Linked DNA regions of Homo sapiens: region 2 is linked to region 1. Evidence: promoter capture Hi-C in 16 types of primary human blood cells and fetal thymus (Javierre and others, 2016). All regions are on one chromosome and are shown on one strand. Each heading gives the region's core, a stretch centred on a gene start or on the middle of the fragment in contact. The rest is flanking DNA. Distances are from core to core; before and after follow the strand shown. Region 1 holds the start of PLK2 (polo like kinase 2). Region 2 has its middle 37 kb from the start of ANKRD55.

Region 1 (4,804 bases), core at 2,305-4,804:
GCTTAATTTGGCCAGGGTTTTTATCATTTGTTGATGTGTCATGCATCATTTTATATATGAGATTATATCCATAGGATAAATTCCTAAGTAAGAGAATACATTCATTTCTAAATTTGATAGATTTGGCCAAATTACTTTTCACTGAAATTATATCAATTTCCATTCCCAACAGCAATATATGGAGTGCTGCTTCCTCAACACTTCAGCAGTTGAGCATGTTCACGGCAACTTTTGAGGGTTTTGCCAATTTTGTAGGAAAGGGTGCCTCAGTATATCTTTCATTTCAATTTCTCTTCTGAAGAGTGAAATTGAGCAAATGTAAGAACCATTTGTTTTCTGTTGGATAATTGGTATTTTATCCAATTGTAGGAGTTTTTATATAACAGGAAGATAAGCTCTTTCTCTGTGATGAGTTGAAAATAATTTTTCCAGTGTTATTTATCCTTTGACTTTATTTGTGGTGTTTTGTTATTTTAAATCAATGAAAGGGTTTTGTTTCTATATAGTTACATTAATGAATCTTGCTTTTTTTTTTTTTTTAGGGATTCTAGATTTTGTAAATAGTTGAAAGTTCTACCACATTCAGGCTATGAAAGAATTCTTTCATATTGTCTTAAAATTTCACGTATTTCAAACTTTCATTTGCTTGAAAATAAGCCAGATATGAAGCATGGATCCATTTTTTCCTTCCTACTGGTTACCAAATTGACTCCATGATATTTAGTAATTAGTCTACTTAATAGAAAGCGCATTTATTTCCTTTTTTGTTCTATAGACTACAATTTTGGTTCTGTCCACATGATGGCACCACAACCCCAAAAAAATCATGTTCTCAGTCGGAAAGAAGACAACATAAGATTTACACAGCGTTAATATTTTATTAAATGCCTCCATGTTGTGGCAGACAGACCTGAATTTCACATGGAATGTTCAACAGTTTATCAAATACTGAAGTCCATTTGGTAAAGATACATACCATAGTGTATGCTAATCAAAGAAGAAATTGACATTTAAAAAAAAATCATGACAATCTATTCTTCAGTTTTTTATCTTAGGCCACAAATGAATACACATACACATACACACATATGTATACATATACAGTTTATTATCAACCATAAAGACATGGTGTGTAAACTAGCTTTGATAAATTCTAGTAATATTTTCTAAACCTGCAAGCCTTCTACATCTTAGAGAGTAGGTTTGCACAAATCTGGGAAGCAAAGGTCACCCCTGGGCTTATGAATAAAGAGGATAATTACGTAATTCTGAATTTCCACCCCTAAGCCCCACCCCTTATTCCATCCCTGACAATCTTGGGGTTAAAGTCTATTGTCACTTATGAGAAACATGCCTGGACTTGCCCTGCACTCTTTAAAGAATCAAAAACGGAAGTGACAGCAAAGACTTTCCCTTTCTCCTCGCTAATGGCAAAGCCTTTCCCTTTCTCCTCTCTAATGGCAATAAGCCTCTTTTCCACATTATGCTGGAAGTATTTGAGACACAGTATTTTTGTAAATGTTCGATTAATGTTGATACCACACATACCTAAATTTGACAGTGGACTGCAGCAACTTTTTGTATGTACCTTCCAGGGATTCAATAATCTGGTATTCTAAATTTCTCTGGAATTTAGCTTCAAAAAACTATTTACCATATCCTGTTAACATAGGTAAAAAGATTCAAGTGTGCTGCTAATTAACCTAACCTCGATGATCTAGTAAAAATATACAATAATTACCTAAGTTCTCCAAGCCTCATCTATAAAATGGGAATAATAATGTAGGAGATGAGAATATGCCACCCCAAATATGGCCCTGGGATAAAGATTATTTTAAGATAATTATTTTGAGAACCAGCAGACCCAGGAAATGCTCTAAAAATGGCATATTACCCTTTCGTAAGGGAAACGTACATTCACTAAAAAAAAAAACAACAAAAACAAAAAACAAAAAAACCCCACAAAACTCCATTTGTAAAAGTGTCTCCTCTGTACCAGGAAGAATGACTCTAAATCATGAAAAACTTATCAATGAAGAAATAAGAAACCCCACTCCTGTTTACCGTACATTTCCTGGTCATGATTCCTTAACTTGCCTGCCCCACTCTTTTCTTTTGGTTTAGCTAAAGATAGTATTTAAGCCCGATTTTAAACCATCTCTAATTTTCCTGGTTATCTCCCATGTATATATGAGACGTATATGTTAATAAGCTTCTTTGTTTTCTTGTTAATCTGTCTGGTTACAGCGACCCAGGCCAAAACTTTGAAAGGTGGAAAATTATTTTTCCTTCCTTACAATATTTCTCTCAGAATTGTTGTAGGATGAAATAAGGCATTTAAAAATACTGCACAGTCCTCAATAAATGTTACTCTATCGTAATTAGAACAAGAAAAACAAACAAAAAAACGTGTTCCTAGATTAGTCAAACTGCACAGCAAAATCTGGAAATGGGAAACTAAGCTGTGTTTGCACTCACTGGCCTACGCTCCTCTCTTCATCCTACCAATCTCCCTACCCCAGAAAGTCTCAGATTGACTCTCCAGGAACCAGGGCAGCTCATGAGCCATCTCAACAGATGCATTCGGAAGAAGTCATAGATGACTCTGATTGGAAACTCACAATCGGCATCGATGTTTAGTACTAGTAACTGTCAAAGGCCCACGGTTGTCAACCGCTGCCCACTTCGACACCTAACGGCATTCCGGAACATTCCACAAGATGGCGCCCTTGCTTTCCAATCTTCGGGCTACGGGCGGAGGACGCCTTGCCAGGACGCCGACCTCGCTCTGCAAGGTTCAGGGGCCGACCTCAGACAGAGGCTCGCTCTAGGGGCATGGGCGGGGGCCAGACGGGCCTCGAGTGGGATCCTGGCACGGTTGGCCGATCGGCCCGGGATCCCGGCTGCGGGCCCGTGTCTGCCCTAGCGCGATGGGCTCGAATGCCCGGCTCCACGAATCCCGGCCTTTCACCCCCACGGCCTCTCGGCACTGCCCCAGCTAGACACCAGCGAGCTCGTCACAGCGCGGGCAGGCACTGCGGGGCAGCTGCAGACGAGCCCTGTCATACGGCCGGAGGAGGCCTCGCCTGCCCGTGCGGCGGGCTCCGGGCACCCTGATACCTTGACACAGGAGGCCCCGGGCGGCCGGGAAGGGCTGTGCGGGGGAGGGACTGCGTCTACACCCGCGCCCGACTCGCTCGGGTCACGGCACTGCCCTGCCACCAGGCGGCTGGGGCGGGGGTGAGGCCAGGCGTCGGCCCTCGCGATTCTGTTTTGTACGCTGAGGCTCGGAGCCTTCGAAGAACGGGACAGCGGGGCCCACGGACGGCTCTGAAGGCCTTCCCGCGGCCGCAAGAGATCTCGGCGGCCGGCGTTTGAGGCGCGCGGCTCCGCTGGGAAGCGAGACCCGGGTGGCGGGACAAGACTTGCTTCCCGGCCACGCGCGCTCGGCCGGCCGTGGGGCGGGGCATAGGCCGTGACGTGATGTCGCGTATCGAGTCTCCGCCCCCTTCCCGCCTCCCCGTATATAAGACTTCGCCGAGCGCTCTCACTCGCACAAGTGGACCGGGGTGTTGGGTGCTAGTCGGCACCAGAGGCAAGGGTGCGAGGACCACGGCCGGCTCGGACGTGTGACCGCGCCTAGGGGGTGGCAGCGGGCAGTGCGGGGCGGCAAGGCGACCATGGAGCTTTTGCGGACTATCACCTACCAGCCAGCCGCCAGCACCAAAATGTGCGAGCAGGCGCTGGGCAAGGGTTGCGGAGCGGACTCGAAGAAGAAGCGGCCGCCGCAGCCCCCCGAGGAATCGCAGCCACCTCAGTCCCAGGCGCAAGTGCCCCCGGCGGCCCCTCACCACCATCACCACCATTCGCACTCGGGGCCGGAGATCTCGCGGATTATCGTCGACCCCACGACTGGGAAGCGCTACTGCCGGGGCAAAGTGCTGGGAAAGGTGACAAGCGGAGGGCGCCGGGCTGCCGGGCGGGCGGGAGGTCTGTCCGGGCGACCCCAAGCCGGGCAAGCCCGCGGGGTCCCTCGCCCGCCGCTTCCGGGTTTTTCGGGGGTCCGATCCCAGCGCGAGGTGGGCTCCTCACCTGCCCTCTGGCTTTTGTGCGCCGGCAGCGCTGGGGATCGGCTTTGCATTCTTAGCCTCAGAACTGTGTGTCTCCCGCAGCCCAGAGAAATGCATCTTGAGTCTGGAAGCGAGGGCTTTCTACATCAGACCTCTCTCCCTCTATCTGCTCCCAGGGAATTTTCCTGACAAGTCTCATCAGAGATTATTTTTCATGTCTCCCCGTTCCAACTCCCTCCATAAAGCTCCCCTTTATAAAAGAAGAAGAGAAACTGTTTGAACTTGCTGTTTCCAGCAATGCATTTCTCTTCATGAGGGAGCTTTAACGAAGTCGAATGCCTCCCTCTGTCCACCCTCCTCCATTCCTCAATTTTTTTTTTTTTGCTTTTCTTTCTTCCCATTTATTTATTTATTTAAAATATCTGCCGTCCATTTTTGTGCCATCCTCAATTCCGTCTCGGCTTTGTTTCCTTTCAGGGTGGCTTTGCAAAATGTTACGAGATGACAGATTTGACAAATAACAAAGTCTACGCCGCAAAAATTATTCCTCACAGCAGAGTAGCTAAACCTCATCAAAGGGAAAAGGTGCGTATGACTCTTGAGTAAAGTATTTTCTTTGTGTGCAAGGATGGCCCTTCCCTGTTAGGAAAATGTCTTCTGCATGTGTAATCACTGGCTTTTCCGAGGTGACTGGAAGCTAATAAGCCTTACCTTGCTTTTTCATTTAGATTGAC
Region 2 (5,064 bases), core at 2,012-4,511, 2.2 Mb after region 1:
AAAAAGAAACCCTGTATCTCCCAGTTACCACCAATTACCTTTTTTTACTTTGCAGTCAACAAGTGTTTCCTGGAGAGATACCCCTAGACTGTGTAAACATCCCATTCTTTACTCAACTTTCACCTTCCAGCTTTCAAATCTATTGATGCATTTTGCCTAAAATAATTACTATGGTTCTCAAATTGCTCTAAGTCCTTAATTTTTTCAGCATTCATTAGCTGGCATTCTACTTTAGGAAAGAGCATTCTCTTTCCATTTATGTGTTCATTTGCTTGTTATATCAGGACAGACTCATGGATATCTATTTTAATCAATGGGATATAATCTAATACTGTGGTTACTTGGACACACAAATCATCCCAGATTGGGCCAGCTGGCACCCCTTCCGGCTGTCCCATGTCCTCTATGTTGCCATCATTATTTGATTACTTTCTTACCTTCTGGCACAACAAGATATTTTAAACTTGGCATATTTTTCCTGGTCCACCTGTGAGATCGGCCATTTCTCCAAGGAATTCTGGTCCATATTCATGGAAAAATAGTATAATATTTAGAAACTAAATTCTAGGTAGGATCTTTGTTATTGGATTTCACTACTCCCAAGCTCTCTCTAGTACAAAGCTAGGAAATGTATGTATTTGTGTACATGTGTGAATGTGTATACATACGCACACATGAAGATATAAAGTGTATGCACAGACTCACAGAAATGTATATCAACGTTTTGTTTCTTTATCCAACCCCACATAGTGCAAACTCTAAATTTACACCAAAACTTCTCATCCTAATCCCATAGACCACAGCGTTCATTCTAGCTTTCTTCTTTCCTATGTTTATTACTCTTTTCTTGCAGTGAGAAACCTGGCTCCCACCGCCTCATTATAATGACTTATTTCCTCAGCCCTCCTGCCCACTGCTTTTACTCCATCTCCCAAGCCCAGAGAGCTAGCACCCCCATTTAGCCATCTTCCTTGCATGGCCAGAAACCCCATGGGGCCGATAATCTATCTGAAAACATTTCATTAATGATAAAAATATATATTGTGATCTAATGACTTAAACCTATTTCCTTTGCAGAAAGTGTTGCAAATGTTATAATACAGCAAACTCCTTGAATGTGTGTGTCTTCCAGTAATTTTGATAGACTGGCCAGGGTGAAAGTTAATCCATGAATGTGATAGAGTGTTTTCTCTGAGAAAAGCTAACTTTATGCCTTTAAATCCATGAGTTGTACATGAACATGACATGAGCAAACATGTATTGTTCAATGGTTCCTGGTGGCCACTGTTTTTATTCTGGATTTTTGCTTCATAAAAACGATAAATCTGATGTTACAAGCTTTCTAAGAAAGCTCACATTTTTCCTAAGGCTCAAAATTGAAAGGAAAAAGATGTTGCATGGCTTCATGAGCCACTTAGTACTGCAATTCAACTGTTAAAAATTACAAACAAAAATTTTATTTAATTTCTTGCTTGCCCTTAATAGGAAAGGCATCTTTAAAGGATTGTTGACTATAGTTTCTGGAATGGTTCATACTGGAAGATCCTCTCAGCTAATCAAACACTGCTCCTTTTTCTTTTCACTAGATGCATTGTGGCCTGAACATGAACATACATGAGGCTAAGTAATTTTTTTTTTTTTTTTTGAGACAGGGTCTTGCTCTGTCACTCAGGCTGGAGTGCAGTGGCACAATCATGGCTCACTGCAACCTCAAGGGCTCAAGTGATCTTCCTGCCTCAGCCTCCCTAGTAGCCGGTGTGTGCCACCACACCCAGCCAATTTTTTTGTAGAGATGGGGTCCCACTATGTTGCCCAGACTGGTCTCAAACTCCTGGGCTCAAGTGATCCTCCCACCTCACTCTCCCAAACTGTTGGGATTATAGGCATGAGCCACCAGGCCTGACCAGCAATTTATACCTTCTCTGACTCTTAAACCTGCCCTGGGGCCATTGGTGTACTCATTGTATTTAACAACCAGCTTTCTGGGGTGCTGCAGGGAGAGGGGTAGTCCTGATTTGCAGTAAATGGCCATTTTTGTAGCATAAATACTCCCACCATGGCCAACATCAAGCTACCAACATGACATCACTTAACTAGGGGCAGGGAAGAGATTACACAACTGGCTCTCATGAGCTTGTGTGAGCCACCTCCAGCCCGGATGCCCGTGTGTACCTATAAACCAACCAGAACCACCCACCCACTTAAGCATTGTCTCCAAACTGCCAGTGACTTAAAAAAAGTTCTGTACCCTAGAGAGATAAGGGTTCAGGAAACAGGCTATAGTCCTTGATTTTGGGTGTTCACATGCTTAACTCAGAGAGATGACTGTCCTGTATCCATGATCAACAGAGAGGTTTTTGCTGGGAACAAGAGAAACGGGAAGAGAATAAGTGAAAGAAAAAATAAAATCAGCAAACTGTCTTGAAGTCAAAAGTGCGCTTGTGGTAAAGCATATGAGATCAACCACCTCCTATGTTTTCACAGTTCTGCTCTGCCTGGAGGGAAGTACCAGCTCCAAAGGAGGTCCAGCTGGTCTCCTGTGCGCAGGATTTGCAGGCTGAGGGTTAAAGGCGCTCTAAGCCATGGAGCACCTCTGACCCCCACTGGCTGCTGTCATGCATTGCACCTCAGGGATGGCCAAGGCCCCTCAGTACATTGCCCTTTCCTAAACACAAGTGACCAGTTTCTCCTTTGCTGTATTGTCAGGACTTTCCACCAAGTGCCATCTATTTCTCATCCATCTCCTTTGAAATATTTTCACTCTTTATCTACTTCTCTGGGCTGGTAGATATTTCTAAGTCATTGTATAGTGCATGGATTTTATTTTCATTTTCGTTTGATCAGAAAATGAGTCGAGAAGATATGACATTGTTGCATATGTGGTTGATTTTCATTTCTCTTTTTCTCATCCTTTTGGTGACAAACACCAGGAGCTGCTTCTTTTTGTATAAGAAGTCCTTCAGCACCTATACTGGTCATCATCTGAAGCGCATACTCTCTTGCGGTCCCTTTGATAGAGCAAGAGCACCACCCACAGCAACAAAACATGCCCTGAGTCTCTGGAGGGAGCCTGGACAGTTAATGAAACCCAGGGCCAATGGACCACAAAGCCCAGTCCGTAATCAGAGTGCTGCATCAATTGCGCACACTCAAGTGTCTGATTCCATCGGTTCAGTTTGGTATCTGTATGGCGTCTGTCTATTTGTATGATACCTTGGTAATCTGACTCATGAATTAGACCAGACCAAAGCAACCTGGGGGAAAGGCGGAGTATTTGTGGGTAAGGAACATGCCTTCCAGCCTTGTTCTAAAAACCAAACATTAGTTGTACATTCCAGTTATTCCTCAAAGGAATTATTTTTTTCCAGTACCCTGTATTAAATTAATTTTGATTTTGCACCTAGTCTCACTGCTTTAGATCATAACCTGAGTGTGACTTCCCTTTGCTGAGCAGGAAAAGTCTTGCCTCTCTACATCTCTATGTATCACTTTCAAATACAAAATTCTGGGTTTCTTATTCTAAAGAACTGCTTTCTGCTCTTGTTTCTCATGGCCAGCAGAGGGACTCCAGAGAAACCCTCAGACAGAGCGTGGGATTAGGCCACTTTGTGGTGGTGAAAGTTCCCCCAGCTCTCTAGAGAAGTGACATTTAACCCTAGGGTTTCCCAGCACACATACAAAAGGTTTGAGAAATAGAGCCAGGTCTCTCAGGACCACAGGTAACAATAATCTTTACCTGAGGCTGAGAAGAGCTTTGTAATCACATCCACCCCTGGCAGAGAGAAAGAAAGCAGGTTAGCACTTAAAAAAAAAAAAAAAAAAAAAGAATTGTGAAAACTGAAGGAGAAAACAACCAGAACCGTGGACGCGAGCCATTATTCCTCGTTGACGTCACAGCCCTCCAGAGCTGCAGAGAGGGGATATTTGGGAGACTAGGGACCAACTCAATTTTATTATGTTTTGTTGGCTGATAAACTTCACAAATGTCCTAGTCATCACTGAAATTATTTAGTCACTTGTCACACTTTTCTCCTTTATTTCCCAATGTTATAGACAATGAGCAAATTGTATAGGAAATAAACTGTTTGTTTTGCAACAGATGCTGGAGAGCATGTGGAGAAATAGGAATGCTTTTACACTGTTGGTGGGAGTGTAATTTAGTTCAACCACTGTGGAAGACAGTGTGGTGATTCCTCAAGGATCTAGAACCAGAAATACCATTTGACCCAGTAATCCCGTTACTGGGTATATACCCAAAGGATTATAAATCATTCTACTATGAAGACACATGCATGCGTATGTTTATTGCAGCCCTACTCACAATAGCAAAGTCTTGGAACCAACCCAAATGCCCATCAATGATAGACTGGATAAAGAATGGATAGAATGGACATAGACACCATGGAATACTATGCAGCCATAAAAAAGGATGAGTTCATGTCCTTTGCAGGGACATGGATGAAGCTGGAAACCATCATTCTCAGGAAACTAACACAGGAACAGAAAACCAAACACTTTCATGTTCTCACTCATAAGTGGGAGTTGAACAATGAGAACACATGGACACAGGGAGGGGAACATAACATACTGGAGCCTGTTGCGGGGGGTGGGGGACTAGGGGAGGGATAGCATTAGGACAAATACCTAATGTAGATGACAGGCTGATGGGTGTAGCAAACCACCATGGCACGTGTGTACCTATGTAACAAACCTGCACATTCTACACATGTACCCCAGAACTTACAGTAAAAAAAAATAAACTTTAAAAAGGATATGAACTCTTTGTTTTAATAAAATGTATATTATAATCAGGCACAGTGGCCCACACCTATAACCTTAGCTCTTTGGGAGGCTGAGGCAGGCAAATCACTTGAGCTCAGGAGTTTGAGACCAGCCTGGACAACACGGCAAAACCCCATCTCTAAAAAGAACAATTACACAAATTAGCCAAGTGTGATGGGTGTGGTGGTGCATGCCTGTAGTCCCAGCTACATGGAAGGCTGAGGTGCAAGGGTCATTTGAGCCCAGGAGGTCGAGGCTGCAGTTAGCCGAGATCACACCACT

Evidence for each region. The method cuts DNA at HindIII sites, captures the fragments that hold promoters and counts their contacts. A CHiCAGO score of 5 or more calls a contact.
Region 2: a contact is called between a fragment that was not itself captured here and the fragment with the promoter of PLK2 in region 1, in 4 of 17 cell types (total CD8 T cells, naive CD8 T cells, naive B cells and 1 more). The highest score is 8.9, in total CD8 T cells.

Annotation. Positions count from the first base shown.
Region 1 is chr5:58,458,836-58,463,639 of GRCh38, reverse strand. It overlaps PLK2 (polo like kinase 2), which reads left to right and starts at 3,554. Exons shown (of 14, transcript NM_006622.4): 1 at 3,554-3,950; 2 at 4,548-4,655; 3 at 4,799-4,804. The coding sequence starts at 3,681. RefSeq lists a silencer at 3,057-3,236. The HindIII fragment of the contact is 4,873 bases long and covers 2,215-4,804 here.
Region 2 is chr5:56,268,252-56,273,315 of GRCh38, reverse strand. No RefSeq gene overlaps it. Among named protein-coding and RNA genes, the nearest start is that of ANKRD55, 37 kb to the right of the region's middle. The HindIII fragment of the contact is 3,842 bases long and covers 1,341-5,064 here.